Linked DNA regions of Homo sapiens: regions 2 and 3 are each linked to region 1. Evidence: promoter capture Hi-C in 16 types of primary human blood cells and fetal thymus (Javierre and others, 2016). All regions are on one chromosome and are shown on one strand. Each heading gives the region's core, a stretch centred on a gene start or on the middle of the fragment in contact. The rest is flanking DNA. Distances are from core to core; before and after follow the strand shown.

Region 1 (4,266 bases), core at 1,249-3,748:
ATGCCACCGCGCTCCAGCCTGGGCAAAAGAGCAAGACTCTGTTTCAAAAAAAAAAATTAGCCAGGTGTGGTAGCGGGCACCTGTAATCCCAGCTACTCAAGAGGCTGAGGCAGGAGAATGGCTTGAACCCAGGAGGCAGAGGTTGCAGTGAGCCAAGATCACGGCACTGCACTCCAGCCTGGGCGACAGAGCAAGACTCCATCTCAGAAAAAAAAAAAAAAGATTAAGTGTCTGCAAAAATGTCTGCTTTGTGATTAAAGTGCTGCACAAATTTCAGAGAATTTTATATATGGCAAAACTAAACTTAATAAAAACATTTACTTTATAACTAACATGGTATTTTGCCCAACTAATGAATTGTAAATTTTGCAATACCGCAACAAAACACAAGAGGGGGTTCATCTACGTTTTTATTTTAATGACAGGTCATTCAACACATATTTTGGGGCGTTCACTAGGTGAAATTATCTGAGATTGCCAGCAATTTTGAGGGGCCCACGTAAGCAACTGTGCATCTCATTCATTCATTGTGGTACATTTTCTGCAGTTGAAGTTTCTAAGAGGTGCTTTGCTGAGGAAGCTAAACAAATAAAGCTGCTGACATTCCCATTCTCAAAAAAAAGGGCAGTGTTCATCTGATCATTGTATTTGTATCCTCAGTGAATCAGAACCAGAAAAAGGCTAAATGATTCCCAGAGACACAGCCATGAAGCAGGTGGTTTCGATCTGAAAAAATCAAGGTGAAAAGCTCTAGCAACCAGAAAGAAACGAATGGAGGAAAATGGAAAACGCAAGCTAGAAGGTATTACAAATGTGTACATGTTGGCTTAAGGGCTTTGAAGCAGTAAAGAACTATCACATATACTGTGTTGTGTATTTTGTAAAAGATAATAAATATTCTTATTTTTAATTCTAACATGAGCAAAACTCTCATGCATCTTCATTAATCATCTCTTTAATCTTGCAGCCTAATGGTTAAGAGTGCAATCTTTGGAATCAGATCTATGCTGTGAGCAAGTTACTTAATGTCCTTGAGACTCAGTTTCCTCATAATAGTATCATTCACAGGTTGTTGGGAGAATTAAATGAAATAAAGCAAGGCACATTGTATGCAATATTGCCTATTATCTCCCATGCATAAACTTTAGCAGAATACTTGACAACAACTAGGATGTTGATGATCAGATGATTGTAGTGGTGATGGTGACAATAACAAGAGCTAACAGTTCGCCAGGTGCGGTGGCTCACGCCTGTAATCCTAGCACTTTGGGAGGCTGAGGCGGGTGGATTACTTGAGGTCAGGAGTTCAAAACCAGCTTGGCCATCATGGTGAAACTCTGTCTCTACTAAAAATACAAAAAATTAGCTGGGCATGGTGGTGTGCGCCTGTAATCCCTGCTACTTGGGAGGCTGAGGCAGGAGAATCACTTGAACCCAGGAGGCAGAGGTTGCCGTGAGCCAAGATCGTGCCACCACACTCCAGCCTGGGTGACAGAGCGAGACTCCATCTCAAAAAAAAAAAAAAAAAAAAAAAAAAAAAAAAAAAAAGAGCTAACACTTATGTAGCATTTACCATCCATCAAATAATCAAATATGCTTCTCAGTACTGTTGTATATATTATTTAATGTTCCCAACATCCTTATGAAGTAAGTTACTATTGTTATCCTCACTTTAATTTTTTTTTACTTTTTTTAAGACAGAGTCTCATTCTGTAGGCCAGGCCGGAGGACGGGAATGAGAAAGGCCATGTACAAGAGGAAGTAGTCAGCCGCTAAATCCAAGGTAAGGGAAGAGGGGACCACTGACCTAATCTCAAGTGACAAGATTAGAGTTCACTGCACTGCAGCCCAGACCTCCAAGACTCAAGTGATCCTCCCGCCTTAGCCTCCCGAATAGCTGGGACTACAGGCACTAACAACCACACTCGGCTAATTTTTTTTCTTTTTTTCTTTTTTTTGTTGTTGTTATTGTTTTGAGACTGAGTCTGGCTCTATTTCCCAGGCTGGAGTGCGGTGGCACGCAGTGGCACGATCTTTGGAGTGCTGGGATTACAGGCGTGAGCCACCGTGTCCGGCCCTTTTTTTTTTTTTTTTCTTTTTTGAGAATCTTGCTCTGTTGCCTAGAGCGCAGTGTCGCGATCTTGGCTCACTGCAATCTCCACCTCCAGATTCAAGTGATTCTCCTGCCTCCGCGCCTCGACTGGCTGTCATTACAGACACGCACCACCCACGCCCGGCTACCTTTTGTATTTTTAGTAGAGACGGGATTTCACCATGTTGGCCAGGCTGGTCTCGAACTGCCAACCTCAGAGGATCCTCCTGCCTCGGCCTCCCAAAGGGCTGGGATTACAGGCGTGAGCCACCGCACCCGGCCTAGGATTTACTACTTTTTTCTTAACGGGGAAATACTACATTCCCCATGATGCCCCAGATCCGGAAGGAAGTGAGACTCGCACTTCCCATGATTGCTTATAGACCGGAAGCCGGGACCTTAATTCTCTTTCCCATCTTGCAAGGTAAGAATCGCGGGCCTGTCTGCAAGACTTGAGTTCAGGACTCCCAATCCTTCGCCATCCGAACCTGGAGGGCATCCAGTCGACACCTACAGGGGTCGGACATGTCCAAGGCTAACTGAGAGGCCTTCCAGACGCTTCATTTTTGTTGTTTGGGTTTGCGGCAGGGCACAAAGAGGGTGAGGTAGAATGCCGTAGTGGCTCCCTCCGGTTCTTCGCCACTCTCTTGGGCTGGGGGAACGAGGCCCTTTCGGGGACCCGTAGCAGACTGGTGGGTGTTAGAGGAAGCGGGGAGACGGCGCGTGCACTGTGTTCCTGGTCCTGGGTTCCAGAGGATGACACTGAGCCTGTCGCAGCCACGTTGGGGTTCCGCACTGAAGCCAAAAGGTTTCGCGTCTCCCAGCGTCCCCGACCGGAAGTCGCCTCTTGGTCTTTGCGATCTTTTTCTCTGGCTCAATTTGGGCTGATTCCGTTTGTGTCCGCAATTCCTAAATCGAGTTTCTTGAAAAGAGACACTGGTCTTAAGGGTTAAGACGAAAGGTACTGAAAGTAAGGGATTTCAAGTTCTGGTCTTGGTGCTTCTAACCTGTGGACACATTCTGCATCTAAGTTTTCTAATTCGCAAAACAGTAATAAAAAATAATGGTTGTACGGACTTCTGACCGCTCAGTATTTGGCAAAAAACCTAATAGGTGTGAGGTAGTTTCAAATTCTCAAAAAAAAAGTTTATAGTGTATTGGGGAGACAAACCCCAAATGAGTCATAGTGAAGGTTGGAGTAGAATGGGTAGAGTTTGAGAGGAAGGCCTGTATCTTACCGGGGGAGGGATTGTAGTCTGGGGAGCCCAGCCCATTCATGTACAGGTTCATTATTGTCTTGTTAGAGAGATGACTGGTGAAATGCCTTTTTTTATCTACAAAAAAATATTTTTAGATGGCGGGTGAAAAAGTTGAGAAGCCAGATACTAAAGAGAAGAAACCCGAAGCCAAGAAGGTTGATGCTGGTGGCAAGGTGAAAAAGGGTAACCTCAAAGCTAAAAAGCCCAAGAAGGGGAAGCCCCATTGCAGCCGCAACCCTGTCCTTGTCAGAGGAATTGGCAGGTATTCCCGATCTGCCATGTATTCCAGAAAGGCCATGTACAAGAGGAAGTACTCAGCCGCTAAATCCAAGGTAAGGGAAGAGGACCACGGACCATTATGTCTTAACCTTAATTGGCATTCTCTTACTGTTGATGCATTTGTGTCCTTGTAGGTTGAAAAGAAAAAGAAGGAGAAGGTTCTCGCAACTGTTACAAAACCAGTTGGTGGTGACAAGAACGGCGGTACCCGGGTGGTTAAACTTCGCAAAATGGTAAGATGTGGGGACTGTAAATTGGATTTTCTGTTTATGCTTGAATACTGTGAAGATGTTTTTGAATACTTAGATACTGTAAGTTTCTGCATACCGGAGAATTTCTGATAGAAAATAAAGGGCTCTGGGTTTGTAACTTGGCTTCAACATTTACTGTTAATCTTAAGTAATTTAAATTACTCGTCTGTGCTTTGTTCCTTTGCATATAATATGGGAATGAGGCTGAGTGTGGTGGCTAATGCCTGTAATCCCAGCACTTTGGGAGGCTGAGGCGAGCAGATCACCTGAGGTCAGGAGTTCAAGACCAGCCTGGCCAACATGGTGAAACCACATCTCTAGTAAAAATATACAAATTAGCTGGTTGCGTGCCTGTAGTCCCAGCTGCTCTGGAGGCTGAGGCAGA
Region 2 (4,430 bases), core at 920-3,419, 480 kb after region 1:
GCTTGCAGTGAGCCAAGATTGCACCACTGCACTCCAGCCTGGGTGACAGGGCGAGACTCCATCTCAAAAAAAAAAAAAAAAAGAAGGATGGCTGCAAATTCCTATTCAGTTTATAAAATTTGTATGGGCCCTACCCATATTTCCAGTTTTTACTACCCTCCTTAACTCCTTTTGCTTCTTATGTTTTAGAAATTGAGATAATTAGACATGAGATGCACCATGATATAAGAGGAGAAAACATTGTGACAGACTTGGAGATATTAACACCTGCCCTTCCTACTACATAAGGTTATAGTGAGGATCAGGTTAGATAATTTTTTTTTTTTTTTTTGAGACAGAGTCTCACTCTGTTGCCCAGGCTGGAGTGCAGTGGTGCAATCTCAGCTCACTACAACCTCTGCCTCCCAGGTTCAAGCAATTCTCCTGCCTCAGCCTCCCGAGTAGCTGGGATTACAGGCGCATGCCACCATGCCCAGCTAATTTTTGTATTTTTAATAGAGACAGGGTTTCGCCATGTTGGCCAGGCTGGTCTCAACCTCCTGACCTCAGGTGATCTGCCCACCTTGGCCTCCCAAAGTGCTGGGATTGTAGGCATGAGCCACTGCGCCCGCCCAGATTGGATAATTTTTATGAAAGAGCTTGGGAAAATCTGAATTGATAGGAAGTATAAATTATTACCTTCCTGTAGTATATCCTGCTACCATTACTACACTAATAATCTACAAAGTTTCATCAGTAAAGACTAGAAGTTGGAGGCCTAAGACTCATTGGTTTGCATAACAAGTTAACGTCACTGATGGATTTTATTATGCCTATTGTTTCCATTCTGATAATGCTCAGACGTGTGTGGAGGAACCTGATACTTCAGACAGTCAGGGCTGACAAGAAGGTTTACACTTTGTGTATTCACAGCTGTCATTCTAATGATCATAAAGCTGACTAAGCCACAGGACACCAAGCTTCACATGGCCCTTTATGTTCTCCAGGTAACACCTTCAACATTCAGTATCTCTGTTCTTACACCCGCTTATCCTATTTTCTTATACTACCTTTACTCGGTAAGGATGATTTTTTCCCTCCGGGTACTTCTACATTGCAAAAGAGAAAATGTATTATTTACACTCAGTTATGAAGAATGTGAAAATTTTCTCAAAGTCGAGGTAGATAATGTTGTAAAAGTACCTCCATGCATTCCAGAGCGTATATATCTCTGGTCAACTTCATTTTACTGATGTGTTTTTAAGGAATGGGCAGCAAAAATAAACAAGATCTGCCAGGTATGTTCTTATGAAACATTGATAGTGACATGGTTCTCTCCCATCCAGAGTAAACTGAATGGGATAAATGAGCTATTCTTGGTGAATGGTGAGGAGGGGATGGAATGATCATCTCTCTTTTTTTTCTTTATTGGATTTAAGAAGATTTTTGGGCTATCTGACTATTCCGATGAGACAGTTTTCTCAAGGGTACCCTGGAAAATGAGGCAATAAGGGGGGGCACTGAAGCTATTTCATTGTCCCTATGTATATACTAAGAAGTATGACCAACTCTCAGTCATCCGTAACAGTGTAGTGTAGACAGTGAGTTCAGGATGAACTAGAAAAATATAAAAAACTGATGTCAGATCTTCATGTTTGAGATAGAGAAAATATAACAATGCTTTATGAATAAGGGGAGTGAGAATTATTCCCTGGATCCCTGAAAACCTGAAGCATGGGCTGCATCACCCCTTCATCTCCTCCAGGCTCTAACGGCAACATCTCAGGGTCTACTCAACTGTGGAGTATATGGCTGGACGCAGCACAAATTCCACCAACTAAAGCAGGAGGCTCGGCGTGATGCAGATACCCAGACACCATTATTATGCTCACAGAAGAGATTCTATAGCAGGGGCTTAAATTCACTGGAATCCACCCTGACTTTTCCTGCCAGTACTTCTACCATTTTTTGAAACTACAATACTGGAACATCCAGGAACTGGAGTTATTCTACGCTAATGGATTGGAAAGAATGTTGGGAAAGGACATCTTAAATCTTTTCTAACTATGCCCTAAACTGCAGAACTCAAAGGAAATATAGTGCCATTGTTAGTAGTCATTCTAGATGAATTGGGAGTATCTCTCCAGTTATTCCCAGATTCACTAGTGATCCTTAAAGTCTCTATTCAGGGAGAGGAAGACACTTTCCATCTCAGAGATAGACTCGTGTTACCTTGATGGATATTGGATTTGTCTAAGTCTCTTCTAGAAAAAATAAATTCTAGATTATTATTTATATGTGTCATTTCAAAGCTGTCTACTCCATGGTTGCAGGGGAAGTGGGGGCAGGGGGCATGCAACAACTTGCTCAGGTCTTGCCATTGCTATTACTGTCTCTAAAGTTGAACACAGAAAATCCTGGGTTTCCATTCTATGAAGAGTTTTGGAAACTCATAGGAAACAAGGAGAACTACTATCAAAAAAGTGACAGTGGGACCTTTAGACACACCACATCTTAGTCTCATATGTTCAGTTCTGTTCTAGGACTTGAACAATAGGGATCACCCCACTCTAGAATACTAAGACTAATCTTTTGAAGTCACAGGGACAATAAGATTTAAGAGAAATAGAGACTAAAAAAAACCTCTAGTAATCAATAACTGTTAACTTGCATTTACAAGCAGAAGTACAAGGTTGGTTTCATTGTGTTCATTTATCAAAGTATAAAGTTAGATTGAACAGTATGAACAACTTGCCATTTTTATAGGTGAAAATGGTCTAATGTCATCAATTTCACATAGTTCAGCCTAATAGTAAGTGTTAAATATATGTTTATAGGATAAATGAGTGAACAAGCAAATTAGTGACTTATAAGTAAAATTTAAATCTTTTGGGAAAGAAAAGATTCTCGGACTGCAGAGCTTCATTCAGGGGTGGGAATATCTATCTAATCTGTTAATTCCTCTTGAATCATGTAACAGTGATATTTGGTCTCTCCAGCTAAGTTATGAACAAGGCCAATCTGAGGCCAGAGCATCATATACTATGATGCCAAAACAAAGGGAAAGCCAAATGGACAAGGTGACTGGAATGATAATTAATCAAAACATCTAGACCTAATAATCTGATGATCACAAAAGCAGCCTTATTCTCACTTGATACATTATCTTGGTATGTCCAAGGCAAAATCTTTAAGATTAGAGAAATTGATTGAGAGGATTATAACGGAAGATTAGACAGGATGTTCTGAAAAGTAAGTTACAGAGATTTTTCCAAAAGAGCTCTCTATAGAAATGTCAGGGAGCTCAATGATAGCTCTTTCGGTTTTAGACCATGAGCTTCATGGAAGTTATGGAGGGTAACCTGGCCTTATTCTGTCAAGATCATATATTGAAGCTTCTCATTGTCCCCAAAATCCTGAGACCTGATTTCATGATAGCACAGAACAAAAAAAGACTGCCTCACCTAGAAAGCTGCGTTAACTTCTTTTAATTTAAAAACTAATAAGCAGTCAGCATATAGAAAAATAGATGGAAGCAAGAAAGAGTTCCTATATCCATAGTCCCTGAGGGACACCAGAACCAAGAAGTCCAGTTCTTTTTTTTTTTTTTTTGAGACAGTCTTGCTCTGTCGCCCAGGGAAGAGTGTGTTGGCATGATCTCGGCTCACTGCAACCTCCCCGTCCCGGGTTCAAGCGATTCTCCTGCCTCAGCCTCCCAAGTAGCTGGGATTACAGGAGCCCACCACCACACCTGGCTAATTTGTGTAGTTTTTCAGTAGAGACGGGGTTTTATCATGTTGGTCAGGCTAGTCTCGAACTCCTGACCTCAGGTGATCCACCCGCCTTGGCCTCCCAAAGTGCTGGGATTACAGGCATGAGCCACTGCGCCCCACCAGAAGTCCATTTCTTTCTTTCTCTTTCTTTCCTTCCTTCCTTCCTTCCTTCCTTCCTTCCTTCTTTCTTTCCTTTCTTTCCTTTCTTTCTTTCCTTTCTTTCCTTTCTTTCTTTCCTTTCTTTCCTTTCTTTTCTTTCTTTCCTTCCTTCCTTCCTTCCTTCCTTCCTTCCTTCCTTCCTTCCTTCCTTCCTTCCTTCCTTCCTTCTTTCTTTCTTTCTTTCCTCTTCTTTCTTTTTGATACAGAGTTTCACTCTTGTTGCCCAGGCTGGAGTGTAATGTCATGATCTCGGCTCACTGCAACCTCTACCTCCCAGGTTCAAGCGATTCTCCTGCCTCAGCCTCCCGCGTAGCTGAGATTACAGGCACATGCCAGCATGCTCAGCTAATTTTTGTATTTTTAGTGGAGACGAGGTTTCACCATGTTGGTCAGACTGGTCTTGAACTCCTGACCTCAGGTGATCCACCCACCTCGGCCTCCCAAAGTGCTGGGATTACAGGCGTAAGCCACCACACCTGGCCAGAAGTCCATTTCTTAAAAGGTCCTTTCAGTATCACT
Region 3 (4,721 bases), core at 273-2,772, 490 kb after region 1:
AATCAGGCCCAGATGGTTTCACTGGAGAATTATAACAAACCTTTAAAAATAAATTAACACTAATTCTACACAATCTCTTCTAGAAAAATAAAAGAGAAGGAAAGGGAACCCTATCCGATTCATTTTATGAGGCCAGCATCACCCTGATACCAAAACCAGAGAAAGACAGTACAAAAAAAGAAAACTACAGACCAATATCCTTCATGAATATAGATGCAAAAAAAATTTAACCAAATATTAGCAAATAAAATTCAGCAATGTGAAAAAAAGAATTATACACCATGACCAAGTTTTGTTTTTTCCAGGGATGCAGGATTGGTTTATGTTTGAAAATCAAACATTGAATTCACCATGTTAGCAGGCTAAATAAGAAAAATCCCATGATCATATCAATTGGTGCAGAAAAAAGCATTTGGCTAAGCTTTACATCCATTCATGATAAAAACTCCCAGAAAACTAGGTAGAGAGTGAAAACTACCTCAATGTAATAAGAACATCTACAAAAAGCCTATAGTTAATGTTTTACTTAATGGTGAAAGACTGAATCTTCCCCCTTGCAGGATACAGTAGCAACATATAAAAATCAATTATATTTCTGTATACTAGCAATGAACAATTTAATCAAAATAAAAATACAATTTAAAATCACTCAAAAAATGAAATATTTAGATGTAAATTTAACAAAATATGTACAGGACCTATTAAATGAAAACCACAAGACACTGATGAAAGAAATCAAAGATGTAAATAAATAGAGATTTGCTATGTTTACAAATTGGAAGACACAACGTAATAAAGATACCAGTTCTCCTCAAACTGATACATAGACTTAACCCAATTCATATCACAATCCGAACAAGATTCTTTGTAGATACAGACAAGAAAATTTTAAAATTTATATTTTACAATATAAATTTTCTAAAAGACAAAGGAACAAGACTAGCTAAAACAATTTTGGAAAATAATAACTTGGAGAAATCACTCTTTTCTGTTTCAATAGTATGCGGTATTGCTGATGAGATACACACATAGATCAATGGAACACAGGAAACCCTTAAATAGAGTTTTTGCACTTTTTAAATTTAGCATAATCTTTTTTTTTTTTTTTGAGACGGAGTCTCGCTCTGTCACCCAGGCTGGAGTGCAGTGGCGCTATCTCAGCTCACTGCAAGCCCCGCCTCCCGAGTTCACACCATTCTCCTGCCTCAGCCTCAGGAGTAGCTGGGACTACAGGCGCCTGCCACCACACCCAGCTAATTTTTTGTATTTTTAGTAGAGACGGGGTTTCGTCATGTTAGCCAGGATGGTCTCGATCTCCTGACCTCATGGTCTGCCCACCTCAGCCTCCCAAAGTGCTGGGATTACAGGCATGAGCCACCGTGCCTGGCCAATTTAGCATGATATTCTTAAAGTTCATCCACATTGTAGCAGGTGTTAGTATTTCATTCCTTTTTTTTTTTTTTTTTAAGAGTTAGGGTTGGCCGGGCGTGGTGGCTCACGCCTGTAATTCTACCACTTTGGGAGGCCAAGGCAGGCAGATCACAAGGTCAGGAGATCGAGACCATCCTGGCTAACACGGTGAAACCCCATCTCTACTAAAAATACAAAAACAAAATTAGCCAGACGTGGTGGCGGGCACCTGTAGTCCCAGCTACCAGGGAGGCTGAGGCAGGAGAATGTTGTGAACCCGGGAGGCGGAGCTTGCAGTGAGCTGAGATCATACCACTGCACTCCAGCCTGGGTGACAGAGCAAGACTGTCTCAAAAAAAAAAAAAAAAATTGTTGGGGTTTCACTCTGTCGCCCAGGCTGGAGTGCAGTGGTGCAGTCATGGCTCACTGCAGCCTCAAACTCCTGGGCTCAAGAGATTCTCCTGGTCGGGCACAGTGGCTCATGCCTGTAATCCCAGCACTTTGGGAGGCCAAGGCAGGTGGATCACTTGACCTCAGGAGTTCCAGACCAGCCTGGCCAACATGGTGAAACCCCGTCTCTACTAAAAATACAAAAATTAGCTGGGCGTGGTGGTGCACATCTGTAATCCCAGCTATTTGGGAGGCTGAGGCAGGAGAATCCCTTGAACCTGGGAGGCAGAGGTTGCAATGAGCTGAGATCTTGTCATTGCACTCCATCCAGCCTAGGCGACAGAGCAAGACTCCATCTCAAAAAAAAAAAAAAAAAATGGAGATTCTCCTGCCTCAGCCTCCTGAGTAGCTGGGACCACAGGTGCATGCCACCACAAACTGTTAAGTTTAAATTTTTTTTTAGAGACAGAGTATCACTATGTTGCCCAGGCTGGTCTGGAACTCCTGGCTTCAAGCAGTTCTCCCACCTTGACCTATCAAAATGCTGGGATTACAGGCGTGAGCGATTGTGCCCAGCTCAGCTCATTCCTTTTTTATTGCTGAATAGTGGTCCATTATATGGATATACTACATTTTAGTTAATGATAGACATTTGGATTGTTTTCATTTAATGTATAAGTAACATGCTATAAATACTCATGTACAAGTTTTTGTATGGATATGTTTTTGTATTTCTTGGGTATATTATGCATATATGAGTGGAAGTGCTAGGTCATAGGATAACTCTGCATTTATTTAGCATTTTAAGAAACTACCAAGCTTTGATTCAAAGTGGCTGCACCATTTTACATTCACACCAGCAGTGCATGTGGGTTCTAATTTCTCTACATCCAGAATCTGTGTTTTTTATCTTTAACCATTTAGTTCCTAGCATATAAATATTTCTTAAAAGTAAATGTTTAAATTTAAAGAATGAAGTCAATAGGAAAATAAACAAATGAACTGAGGTCAGATTAGTTTGTTGGGTCTTTTTTTTTTTTTTTTTTTTTTTTTGAGACAGGGTCACACTCTGTAACCCAGGCTGGAGTGCAGTGGCACCATCACAGCTCACTATAGCCTTGACTTGGCCTGGGCTCACTGATTCTCCCACCTCAGCTTCCCGAGTAGCTGAGACTACAGGCGCAAGCCACCATGCCTGGGTAATTTTTATATTTTTATATTTTTATATTATATTTTACCATGTTATCGAAGCTGAGCTTGAACTCCTGGATTCAAGCGATCTGCCCCTCAGCCTCCCAAAATACTGGGATTACAGGGGTGTGCCACCACGCCTAGCCTGAAGCCCAGATTTGTATCATTTGCCTGTTTCTGTGGTATAAATACTCCCACCACCATGACATAACAAGATAAGGTGGTGGAGTATACATATATATAGGGGAGAGTTATGGAAGATTTTCTCCCCGTGGCAGAGTAATTATCTGGAGCCATATTACATATACAATGGGGAAGTGATAAAAGACCTCACAGTTTTTTAAAGCTTTATGTCTAAAAGCAGGGTGAAAACATTTTACAGTTGTTCAACATTTTGCATTCTCATTAGTAGAGGAAGACTGCCTTTTTTCTTTTTTGAAAAAATACTTCAGTGATACTTTTGTGCCCCTTTCCCACAGCTTGCCCACAAAAAATGACAAAATTCAAGAATGAAGTTTGGGGGAATAAGAGGCTAAACTGTTTTCAAATTAGTGTAACACTTTGCCTTCATTGTGGGCAGAATTGCACCTATCTGAATTTATGATGGTGTGATCTGGGTTTTCAGTAAATTACTTAAAAAAAAAATTTTCCCTCTCACTGAGCCCAGAGAATGAAATGGAGTATGACCCCAGGTTAGGAGGAATTTCCATCAGACATTCCTAAAAGGACAAGAAAAGATGTCAGGTTGGGGCCAAGGAGAGAGATCACCAATCCAAGTCCCCCAGGGAGGGGCTTGGCCCCTGGGCTCCAGGAACACACATATCTGTAACATCCAAATGTATTTTCTTTCCCATATCGTCATTCCCTTTGTTTAACTCAAGTCTAGATAAAACTAGAGCCTGAACTTGGCGGTGCTTTGGGTAAGTAAAAGAAGGACCTGGTTCTCCACTGGCCTGAGGCAGCACAGAGAAGACAAAAGCGGTCCAGAGAAGGCAGATAAAGGATGGCAAGAAGTCACCAGTCAACACCAGAGTCTCTTGGGGCAGCACCTGGCTGGGTCACAAGTGACTACCAATGACAACACGTAAACATTCCTCATAATTCCCCAACACACTGGGGAGAGGAACCAGGAGAAAGGCTATACTTCCTAGAGGCACAAACACACCATGCAGAACAGACTATTCTCACTCATGCTTAAGGGAACTCTGACTCTTGAACCCAGACATTTAAGATCCCAAGTTCCATGTACCTGCTCATTCATTCCTGCCTCCATTAAAACTCATCCTTCCCTGCCACAGTCTATCCTAAAGGGGTTCAGCCTTATTTGGCTGGAGTTTGGGGTTTATGAACATTCAAAATTTACTTAATGAGCTTTATAAAATTAACAATATTGTATCTGAACAAGATTTTGGATTGTGCAGTGGCTATGGACTGGCAAAAAGCATCCTACCTGGCTGGGCACAGTGGCTAATGCTTGTAACCCCAGCACTTTGGGAGGCCAAGGTGGAAGAATCACCTGAGGCCAGGAGTTCAAGACTAGTCTGGGTAACAGAGACCTCCATCTCTAAAAATAAAAATAAAAATACTTAGCACAAGAGGCTGAAGTAGGAGGGTTGCTTGAGCCCAGGAATTTCAGGGCTATGATTGTGCCATTGCACTCCAGCCTGGGCAGTAGAATGAGACCTCATCTCTCTTTTTTAAGAAAATTTTCTCCAAAGCAGTTTATTAAT

Evidence for each region. The method cuts DNA at HindIII sites, captures the fragments that hold promoters and counts their contacts. A CHiCAGO score of 5 or more calls a contact.
Region 2: a fragment that was not itself captured here is called in contact with the fragment with the promoter of RPL6 in region 1 in 1 of 17 cell types (endothelial precursors); the score reaches 6.3 in endothelial precursors.
Region 3: a contact is called between a fragment that was not itself captured here and the fragment with the promoter of RPL6 in region 1, in 1 of 17 cell types (endothelial precursors). The highest score is 5.3, in endothelial precursors.

What each region holds. Positions count from the first base shown.
Region 1 is chr12:112,407,837-112,412,102 of GRCh38, reverse strand. It overlaps RPL6 (ribosomal protein L6), which reads left to right and starts at 2,498. Exons shown (of 7, transcript NM_000970.6): 1 at 2,498-2,516; 2 at 3,447-3,683; 3 at 3,765-3,863. The coding sequence starts at 3,447. RefSeq lists an enhancer at 2,688-2,867. The HindIII fragment of the contact is 30,731 bases long and covers 1-4,266 here.
Region 2 is chr12:111,929,142-111,933,571 of GRCh38, reverse strand. TMEM116 (transmembrane protein 116) reads left to right here. Exons shown (of 11, transcript NM_001193531.2): 10 at 913-986; 11 at 1,745-2,274. The coding sequence ends at 1,951. Among named protein-coding and RNA genes, the nearest start is that of TMEM116, 82 kb to the left of the region's middle. The HindIII fragment of the contact is 2,415 bases long and covers 962-3,376 here.
Region 3 is chr12:111,911,688-111,916,408 of GRCh38, reverse strand. No RefSeq gene overlaps it. Among named protein-coding and RNA genes, the nearest start is that of MAPKAPK5-AS1, 71 kb to the right of the region's middle. The HindIII fragment of the contact is 2,198 bases long and covers 424-2,621 here.